2 separate regions of the Homo sapiens genome follow, and region 2 is linked to region 1. The links are contacts of gene promoters, found by promoter capture Hi-C in blood cells and fetal thymus (Javierre and others, 2016). All regions are on one chromosome and are shown on one strand. Each heading gives the region's core, a stretch centred on a gene start or on the middle of the fragment in contact. The rest is flanking DNA. Distances are from core to core; before and after follow the strand shown. Region 1 holds the start of NCBP2-AS1 (NCBP2 antisense RNA 1). Region 2 overlaps PCYT1A (phosphate cytidylyltransferase 1A, choline).

Region 1 (5,087 bases), core at 1,020-3,519:
TGTACCGCATGGCGTTTTCCGCATCTGCGCGTGAGTAATATCTTAAGTATTAAGGAACACTAGCATTTTTCCAAACATTTCTGGAAATAGGGGAACAACATGTAAATGAAGCTGAGTTGTTAAAAAGTACAAGAGCTAATCCAACCAGATGGAGTTCAAAGACAGTAATTCAGCTTGCCCAGGCCTGTTTGCGATTGGTTTGGAAGCACATAGAGTCAAATATGACACGTATCCATGGCTACACTGATCATATTTCTTGGACATTCCTGTTGATAATTTTTGGTCCCATCATCTCTGTATTTTGGTTTGCAAGTTTAGATCACTGTACACTTCTTATCCAAGAAACCAGTGCTGTATATTCAAGTTAGGTTCTGTACATTCCAAGGCACCCTAATCAAGAGAAGGTCACCGTGCACGTGGAATTGTGCTGCACTTCACTAAAGGAAAGACTCAAGCTGTCACCAAGGTAGCAGTTCCCAAACCTACTTCATCAGAGACCTCCCTTTAATTAAAGGGGAAGACATTTAATCTCAGACAAATAAAAATAAGACAACAGTGTTCTGAATAAACCATCTGGAGAAACTAGTATCTTTGATGTTAGCAAGCCAAAATAAAATCTCTTTTCATTCTAGCATTTGGGAAACCTGTGTATCCCCGAGGCAAGCCTGCAATCTGGGAGAGAAGCCCTGCCTGGGTCCAGTGAGTCAGCATTCTTTTCCTTAATTATGAGCAGAAATCCAGGGATCACCAGACACTTAAGGAAAAATTTCAACCGAAACAAACATAATTCAGGGCACAGGAAAAAATTCAAAAGATATATTAAATTGGGCCTGCAAAATTTCTCAGAATATTAAATTGAATGACCAAAACATACAGTAAAAAGAACATAGGATAAATCCAAGAGGTCCAATACTTAAAAGAGTCTGAGTAAGGGAATTAAATGATCAAAGTAAATAGTTTTGGTTTGTACCTATACAGTCAGGTTATATACATCTATATAATGAAATACTATACAGCTATTTACTTAAAAGTTTTTTTCTTTAAAGATGGGGTCTTAACCCGTCACCCCCGCTGGAACACAGTCACAACTCAGTGCAGCCTTGAAATCTTGGGCTCAACTGATCCTCCTGCCTCAGCTTCCTGAGCAGCTGGCACTACAAACACCAGCCACCATGCCCAGCTGTACAGCTATTTTAAAAAAAGACCTACATATGCTGAAATGGAACAATAAAAAATAAAAAAATGATTTTAAAAACAGCACATGAAATACACTACCGCACACCCACAGGGTTACTTCTTGAAAGACGCCCAAGAAACTGGTAACTGACTGCCTCTGGCAAAGGGCATTAGGGGTTTAGAACAGTACGAGATTTTTATATTTTCACTACATTCTTTGGAATTTTTTTTTTTTTACGTGAAGGGCAAACATTCTTGAAAAACTTTTTGTTAAAGAACCATAAAGCATGGATTTCAGAAGAGAATATAAATAGTATCAGCTTTACAGTATAAGGGCAGAGACACACTGGGTGGAAAGTAGGAGGGAGATGAAGGAAAACGTAGGGACGAGTGCAGGGACGCTTATGAGCTACCACTCTCAGCTCTACCCTGGTTCAGCAGCTACATTAGATCCATGGGAAGGATACTCCACAAAACAGAATCCACATGCTGTTTTCTTCATTTTATCCAGACCCATAATGATTTTCTTTATGTCACCACTTTTGCTGAAGAGTTCATAGATTTGTTCTTCAGTTGTGTAAAAAGAAAGATTTCCAACATATAACGTACAGCTTTTCTTCAGTAATTTTTCTTGTTCTTCATTGTCACCCTAGAATTTCAAATAGAGACAAAAGTTAAGCAACTTCAGAGCCTTGCTTAAATAGTATTTCTAAGTACGGTAGAGACATTCATTAATTCTGGTTTGGAAATCAACTTCTCTCATCCCAGCCTACCAGAAATCCCTTGCCCAAAAAGGGGGATGTCGACCTTCTGTGAAGCACTTATGCGAAGTCCAGACTCTTAGTAGAGACAGGGCTCAAAAGTTATACCACATACAACAAAGTCACTTCTACGCCCGACTGCCACGCAAGCGGCTTCCCTTTTCCCTGCACACACCATATCCTCAGCAGTGCATCCTTTAAACCCAAGTGTAGACTCTGGACCTTGACCCAATATATGACAAAGGGCCCTTTTATCCTTCGTAGTGAAAAATAAGTGGGTTTTCAGAGAGAGAGAGAGTTCCTCTTTAATAACCCCCTAGAGACTGTTGAAAGCCACAACCTTGATGCTTTACGTGCTCATAGATCTTTCTCTGAGTTTAGGGGAAAATGTAGTGATCACTAAAAACAAAACAGAGCTCACTTTCTTAATGGGCTTCCAAATTGGGATGACAGGATGAAGCCAGAGACTTAAGCATATAACTGGGCTTCATCCAACACACCTGACAGACAAAGCCCTGGGTCCAAAATGGCTCATCGGGGTCAGGCGCGGTGGCTCATGCCTGTAATCCCAGCACTTTGGGAGGCTGAGGCGAGTGGATCGCCTGAGGTCAAGAGTTTGAGACCAGCCTGGCTAACATAGTGAATGAAACCCTGTCTCTACTAAAAATACAAAAATTAGCTGGGCATGGTAGCAGCGGGCGCCTGTAATCCCAGCTACTCGGGAGGCTGAAGCAGGAGAATCGCTTGAACCTGGGAGGTGGAGGTTGCAGGGAGCTGAGATTGCACCACTGCACTTGAGCCTGGACAACAAGAGTGAAACTCTATCTCAAAAAAAAAAAGTCCACAGGACAATAGTCATTGTATGTTAAAAAGAGGTTTTCGGAACTTTGGAGTGAGACATTAGAGAAAGTAAATTCCTTTCATTTTACTGCTGTTACTGATTTGTGAACATGGAAAGGAGGCATCTTCTTTTTCTACTTTTCTCACACATGTAAGTAAGATCCAAATAAATAGCCTACAGTTTAAGATAACTGTGGTGTAAGTGCTTAAAGTATATTAATATGGATTCCATTCACAGAATGCTAGAAATTCCACATGACAGTATGGCATTAGCATCTAAAAAAAGCTACAGGTTTAGACTGAGGAGATGAATAATAGACAAAGTCAGAAGGTTCCAGTTTTCATCTCACAGGATGCTTTAAGTTCAAAATGGTCAGGATGTGGAACTGTCTAAAGTAGTAACTAAAAGTGGTAGAAGTGCAAATCATGCCTGGCACTTAGGCATCCCAGCACTTTGGGAAGCCCCAGGCAGGTGGATCGCTTGAGTCCCAGAGTTCGAGACTGGCCTGAGCAACACAGGGAGACCCTGTCTCTACAAAAAATTAGCTGGATGTGGTGGCGCGAGCCTGTGGTCCCAGCTTCTCAGGAGGCTGAGGTGGGTAGGATCACTTAGGCTCAGGAGGTTGAGGCTGCGTGAGCCGTGATTGCGCCACTGCACTTCAGCCTAGGCAATAAAGCGAGACTCTGTCTCAAAAAATAAAATACATTAACTGAATAAATTTTTTTTTTTTGAGAAGGAATATCGCTCTGTTGCCCAGGCTGGAGTGCAGTGGCGCGATCTCACAGCAACCTCCACCTCCCCGGTTCAAGCGATTCTCCTGCCTCAGCCTCCCGAATAGCTGGGATTACAAGCGCCTGCCACCACGCCCGCCTAATTTTTGTATTTTTAGTAAGACGGGGTTTCACCATCTTGGCCAGGCTAGTCTTGAACTCCTAACCTCGTGATCCACCCGCCTCAGCCTCCCAAAGTGCTGGGATTACAGGCGTGAGCCACCGTTCCCAGCCTTGACTAAATAAATCTAAGAGCTTCCCTAATTTAGCGTCAAACAAAATTTCCCTTTCCCTACTCTAGTAACACATTTCACACATTCTCCACACTTACCCTCTGCTATATGCGCCCCTTCCTTTCCCAGTCACAAGGGGATTTTTCCCTTTTCTGAATCCTCACTACAGGGGATTATGAGCTCGCAGAGCGCAGAAACTGTCTTCCCTCTCCCTCTAGGGTTTAGCACAAGGATTTGGCGACAGCACTCGATAAACGTTTACTAAATAATTGGGTTAATGAGTCCCGCCCCGCCAACCCCCAACCGTATTCCATCCCTACCTCCGCTGATACTGAAAAGTCTACTTTGAATATCTGCTGCCTCCCCTTTTTCCACAAAATATACTGTGATATAGTCCGGACTAAAAATTTCCCTCTTCTGAAATCCAGCAATTCTCCGATCTTTACATCCGAACACCCTCAAAGTGCCGAGCTTGGCGGGTCCACCTCCCCACTCCGAAGCTTCCCCGAGGGCGGAGTGAGGACTCCACTTGTGTCTCCCACGCACCGCGTACAGCTTCCGTAACACCATCCTCCCAGAGAAGGGGCCCGAATCGCCGAAGGGCACTGCTTCGCCGATTTAAAAAACAAAGCAAAAAGCCCCGCATCTGCATCAGGAAGGCGCCTCTGCCTACTCTGGGAGAGAGAAGGGCACCCCTCCCCCTTGCTACGTAGTCGTCTGCGGAGGCACAACCGTGGAAACGGGAGCCGCCACCACCACCACCGCTCAAACCTCTCGGCACTGGCTGGGGTACAGGGAGCGGCTGCGAGCGAATGGGATAAGCGAGCCTCCAGTTCCCCGTCTTCCAGAGCAAGTGGCTTCAGTGATATCCAAGCGCCCTTCCAGCACCCATTCCCTGCCTCGCCAGCAGGCACCGGGGCCCCACTTGGCGTTTGCGGATTTCAGCTGAATGGGAGGCGACACAATGAGACAAGAGCAAACCGTTTCTCAGCGTTCTTGCCCAGGGCCTTCCCGTCTCGCGGCCCGGCCTCCCTCACCCGGAAGTGCTGGTCCCGGTACTGGCTCAGCTCCACGTAGGAGTCGCTGCGCAGCGCCTTCAGGAGGCCACCCGACATAGTGCAGAGAAGCGGACCACAATGCGGCGACTCCCGGCACGAGGCTGCGTCCGCGATGGCGGAAGCGGAAACGCGCGGAGGCGAGCATCTCATTGGACCCAATCCGAGGGCGGCGTGTCGTCATCAAGCTGCGCGGGGGCATAGACGTCCGGGTCGGGCGCCGCGGGGCGGAAGACGAGGGCGGCGAGGTC
Region 2 (5,087 bases), core at 27-2,526, 690 kb before region 1:
TATGCTGAGGATCAGATACACTATGCTGAGGTTGAGGACCAGATACACTATGCTGAGGATCAGATACACCATGCTGAGGTTGAGGATCAGATACACTATGCTGAGGCTGAGGACCAGATACACCATGCTGAGGCTGAGGACCAGATACACTATGCTGAGGATCAGATACACTATGCTGAGGTTGAGGACCAGATACCCTATGCTGAGGCTGAGGACCAGATACACCATGCTGAGGCTGAGGACCAGATACACCATGCTGAGGCTGAGGACCAGATACACCATGCTGAGGCTGAGGACCAGATACACCATGCTGAGGCTGAGGATCAGATACACCATGCTGAGGCTGAGGACCAGATACACCATGCTGAGGCTGAGGATCACATACACCATGCTGAGGCTGAGGACCAGATACACCATGCTGAGGCTGAGGACCAGATACACCATGCTGAGGCTGAGGACCAGATACACCATGCTGAGGTTGAGGACCAGATACACCATGCTGAGGTTGAGGATCAGATACACTATGCTGAGGCTGAGGACCAGATACACTATGCTGAGGCTGAGGATCAGATACACCATGCTGAGGTTGAGGATCAGATACATCTCCTTCCTGTCTTCAGGGCAATGAATGAAGGAGAAGGAAAGTAGTTCTCAGGAGGTTTATGAATTTTTGTTTTCAAAAAGCTTTACTCATAAATAAGTAGATTTTAAACCAAGAAATCATACACTGCTGAAAGGAGTATCAGCAACTTTCAAGAAGGGCAATTAGGTCGTATCTATCAAAAGACAAACGACAAATGCTTATAGCTGTGGCCCAGCTTTTCTAATTCTGGGAATTATCTCACAGTAAATATAGATGTTATTCATTGCAGTACTGTTTATAATAGCAACAGTCAGGAAACGACCTACATTTCAACGGAAGATTGAATATAGCATAATACACCCACTAAAAGGTGGGAGGATATATAAACAATTTACTTAGATATTCACAGAAATGGGTAATATTGGTGGCCTGTTATAGGGATACCAGGTGGCTGTGAGACAGGTCTTGAGAGGGAGACATTTTACTTTATGCCCTTTTTGTATTTTATGGATATTAAACTGTGGGAATGTATTGATTTCACTTGATTTGATTTTTTGAGACAGGGTCTGGCTCTGTCACCCTGGCTGGAGTGCAGTGGCATGGTCTCAGATCACTGAAACCTCCACCTCCCAGGCTCAAATGATCCTCCCGCCTCAGCCTCCCGAGAAGCTGGGACTACAGCGCACACCACCACGCCCCGCTGACTACAGCGCACCCCGCCACGCCCCGCAGACTACAGCGCACCCCGCCACGCCCCACTGGCTACAGTGCACACCGCCACGCCCCACTGGCTACAGCGCACACCACTACGCTCAGCTGATTTTTGTATTTTTTGTACAGATGGGGTTTCACATGTTGCCCAAGCTAGTTGTATTTTTATTTATTTATTTATTTGAGATGGAGTCTTGCTCTGTTGCCCAGGCTGGAGTGTGGTGACATGATCTAGGCTCACTGCAACCTCTGCCTCCTGGGTTCAAGTGACTATCCTGCCTCAGCCTCCCAAGTCACTGGGATTACAGGCGAAAGCCACCAAGCCGGGATAATTTTTGTATTTTTATATTCGTATCCCATGTTGGCCAGGCTGGTCTCAATTTCCTGACCTCAAGTGATCTGCCCGCCTTGGCCTCCCGAAGTTCTGGGATTACGGGCGTGAGCCACCATGCCCAGCCCAGGCTGGTTGTATTGATTTTATAATACAGGAAATAAAAATTTTAAATTAAATATACCAATCCAATGAAAAACTAAGAATTAATTAATGGATTTAAGAGTCAGAAAGGTCATAGCTCAAGCTTTGACCAAGCTTTCCAACCAGCTTTCTTCCTCTGTAACCTTAACTTCCTTATGCCTCAGTTTTCTCATCTATGAGAGAAAGCAGGCTGGGTACAGTAGCTCACACCTGTAATTCCAGCACCTTGGGAGACCAAGGTAGGAGGACTGCTTGAGCCCAGGAGTCTGAGACCAGCCTGGGCAACACAGTGAAACCCTATCTCTATTAAAATTATTTTTTACTGCCAGCATGTGTCAACTAAAAAAAAAGAAGAAAAAAATATTTTTAAAAAGATAATTTTTAATAAGACAAAGCAAAATAAAACAAAATTTGAGCATATAATCCCCCTTCTATGTCCCAGAAATCACTGCATTGGCTCTATGCCTATTAAAAAATAATACATTAAAAAGATTTTTGGGCCGGGCACAGTGGCTCACGCCTGTAATCCCAGCACTTTGGGAGGCCAAGGCAGGTGGATCACCTGAGGTCAGCAGTTGAGGCCAGCCTGGCCAACATGGTGAAACCCTGTGTCTACTAAAAATACAAAAATTAGCTGGGTATGGTGGTGGGCGCCTGTAATCCCAGCTACTCGGGAGGCTGAGGCAGGAGAATCTCTTGAACCCAGGAGGCAGAGGTTGCAGTGAGCTGAGATCGCGCCACTGCACTCCAGCCTGCGAGACAGAGCAAGACTCTGTCTCAAAAAAAAAAAAAATTGAAGTATCCCAGAAGTCACGTCCATGAAGTAACTAACATAGTTCCATTTTCCCTAAACAAGTCCAGAGGGGCTATGATCTCACACTATTCGATCCTGAAACACAAGGGATAGAATATACAAATGAAGACTACTTTGTTGTTTCTTTGCTACTAGACAGCATACAGCAGGGAAATTTTGCTCAAGAAACACATTGCCTGGATGGTGGCAATAGCACAGAATGCTGTTGATCAAGTGGCTGCTTGCAGCACAGCTAATCATCCTATGTTAGGCCAAGTAGATCACTGAACCTTTTCTCAGACCAATCCCAGATGCGCCTCTTGCTCTCTCCAGTGCTTCCCCAGCCTACCAACATCTCAACTGGCCACCATTCCATCCCAAGTCTTTGGCAAACCCAGGCTGATATATTAACCAAACGGCCAGAAGGGGTCACTGTTGAACTAGTCTGGGAAGAAAGCTAGCGTTAGCCATTCTTTTACCAAGTGGCTATTGGCCAGGATAAACACACCCCTGATTTAATGTATGTTATAGTATATATAATCATATTTATATAAATTATATACTTTTAATATAATTTTTCCTGTTTCTATTATATAATGTACTATATAATACATATTTAATATCATTTATATATTATGCATATATTACATATGTATATATGTTATATAGATAGATAGATAGATTTTTTTTTTTTGAGACGGAGTCTCACTCTGTCGCCCAGGCTAGAGTGCAGTGACGTGACCTAGGCTCACTGCAACCTCTGCCTCCCAGGCTCAAGTGATTCTCCTGTCTCAGCCTCCTGAATAGCTGGGATTACAGGTGTGTGCCACCACGCCTGGCTAATTTTTTATATTTTTAGTAGAGACGGGGTTTCACCATGTTAGCCAGGATGGTCTCGATCTCCTGACCTTATGATCCACCCACCTCAGCTTTCCAAAGTGCTGGGATTACAGGTGTGAGTCACTGTACCTGGCCTATATATATATTTTTTTAATTTTTATTTATGTATTTATTTATTTTTTAAGATAGGGTCTCTGTCACCCAGGCTGAAGTGCAGTGGTGCAATCATGACTTGCCGTGGTCTAGACCTCCTGGGCTCAAACAATCCTCTCACCTCAGCCTCCTGAGTGGCTGGGACTATAGATGCACACCACCACACCTGGCTAATTATTAAAATTTTTGTAGAGATGGGATCTCACTGTATTGCCCAGGCTGGCCTTGAATTCCTAGCCTCAAGCAATCCTTCTGCCTTGGCCTCCCAAAGTGCTGGGATTATAGGCATGAGCCACCACACTCAACCTCTGTATATTATTAACAGCAACTCCCTTTCATGCTCAAAACCGTCCTGATTTGGATGATAAATTATATGGTTTATGTGGGTTATGAATTATACGCTGCACCACTGGTGACTAAGTAACCATATGTCCTCCTTTAGGCAGAAGAAACCTGGGTTTCAGTTAATGATCTCTTTTGATAGATTTACTCTCCCAAATACCTACCACCGAAACATTCTGTTCCTAACATTTCCATTGCCCTTCACACTCTCCCTTTTCCTTCCTTTCTCTGAGTTAAACATATTGCTGATTTTTTTCATCTCCCAAAAGATTCCTAGAGCTGACCTTCTTGTCTCTCAAATCATATTTGTTTTTCTCTAAGTAGAGAATCTTCTCCTAGATTATACAACCTCCCTCGTAAAAACCTGGGGAGCAGGAGGGAGGTGTTGAAACTTCACTAGAGCAGGTGCATTCTTTATTGCTTTATTCCTTGTCCTGCACTGGCATGAATGCAGTTACCTACTTGGTGATTTAACATAAAACAGTCAGACAAAATGAGATCTAAGAGAAAAACCAGAGTTCAAATTAAGCTGGCAAATTTATAGGCTAATTTGTGGCTGTTTGTTCCACCAAAAATACAATTATTTTGCTGAAGGCCTTCTATTCTAATGCTTACAATGAGTAGCACCATTCCCGGGTGAGGTTTGAGCTGCAATTCTATTCCACTAATCATCCGTTTTACTGTAGGGGAAGCCTTCGCTTCTTGGTTACTATGGACCTTAATTGCTTTATGTACTTAATGAAGAAACTATAAAGTAGATAATCTTGAAAATGACTTATTTGTAAAATCCTATAATTCTAAAATTAAAAACAATTATACCAGTCAGGACTTGTTAATTATAAGCTTTAAAACTTGGAAACAGGCCCGGCACGGTGGCTCACTCCTGTAATCCCAGCTACTTGGGAGGCTGAGATTTGAGAACTGCTTGAACCCAGAAGGGAAATGTTGCAGTGAGCTGAGATCACACCACCGCACTCCAGCCTGGTTGACAAGCGAGACTCTGTCTCAAAAACAAAACAAAACAAAAGATCAACTTGGAAACAGTACACATATTTTCAAATTTTATGTACCACAAATGATATATAGACAAATTAGCAACAAACTGGATAATGCAACCCATCAGATCAAATCTAAATGAATAGCTGATTGTAAATGTGTGTCATTAGAGAGTATGTAAAAAGTTCTTGCTT

Evidence for each region. Contacts are between HindIII fragments. The CHiCAGO score rates a contact against its expected background, and 5 or more counts as called.
Region 2: a contact is called between a fragment that was not itself captured here and the fragment with the promoter of NCBP2-AS1 in region 1, in 2 of 17 cell types (naive B cells and total B cells). The highest score is 5.6, in naive B cells.

The regions. Positions count from the first base shown.
Region 1 is chr3:196,937,608-196,942,694 of GRCh38, forward strand. NCBP2-AS1 (NCBP2 antisense RNA 1) reads left to right here and starts at 2,270. Exons shown (of 3, transcript NR_046630.1): 1 at 2,270-2,520; 2 at 3,367-3,535; 3 at 4,786-4,927. NCBP2 (nuclear cap binding protein subunit 2) reads right to left here and starts at 4,921. Exons shown (of 4, transcript NM_007362.5): 1 at 4,819-4,921; 2 at 1,644-1,825; 3 at 1-41. The coding sequence starts at 4,896. It overlaps NCBP2AS2 (NCBP2 antisense 2 (head to head)), which reads left to right and starts at 5,067. Exons shown (of 1, transcript NM_001355243.2): 1 at 5,067-5,087. RefSeq lists enhancers at 4,253-4,926, 4,385-4,624, 4,655-4,794, 4,845-5,087, 4,927-5,087. The HindIII fragment of the contact is 10,665 bases long and covers 1-4,279 here.
Region 2 is chr3:196,250,789-196,255,875 of GRCh38, forward strand. All of the region lies in intron 3 of PCYT1A (phosphate cytidylyltransferase 1A, choline), which reads right to left. Among named protein-coding and RNA genes, the nearest start is that of PCYT1A, 34 kb to the right of the region's middle. The HindIII fragment of the contact is 1,188 bases long and covers 683-1,870 here.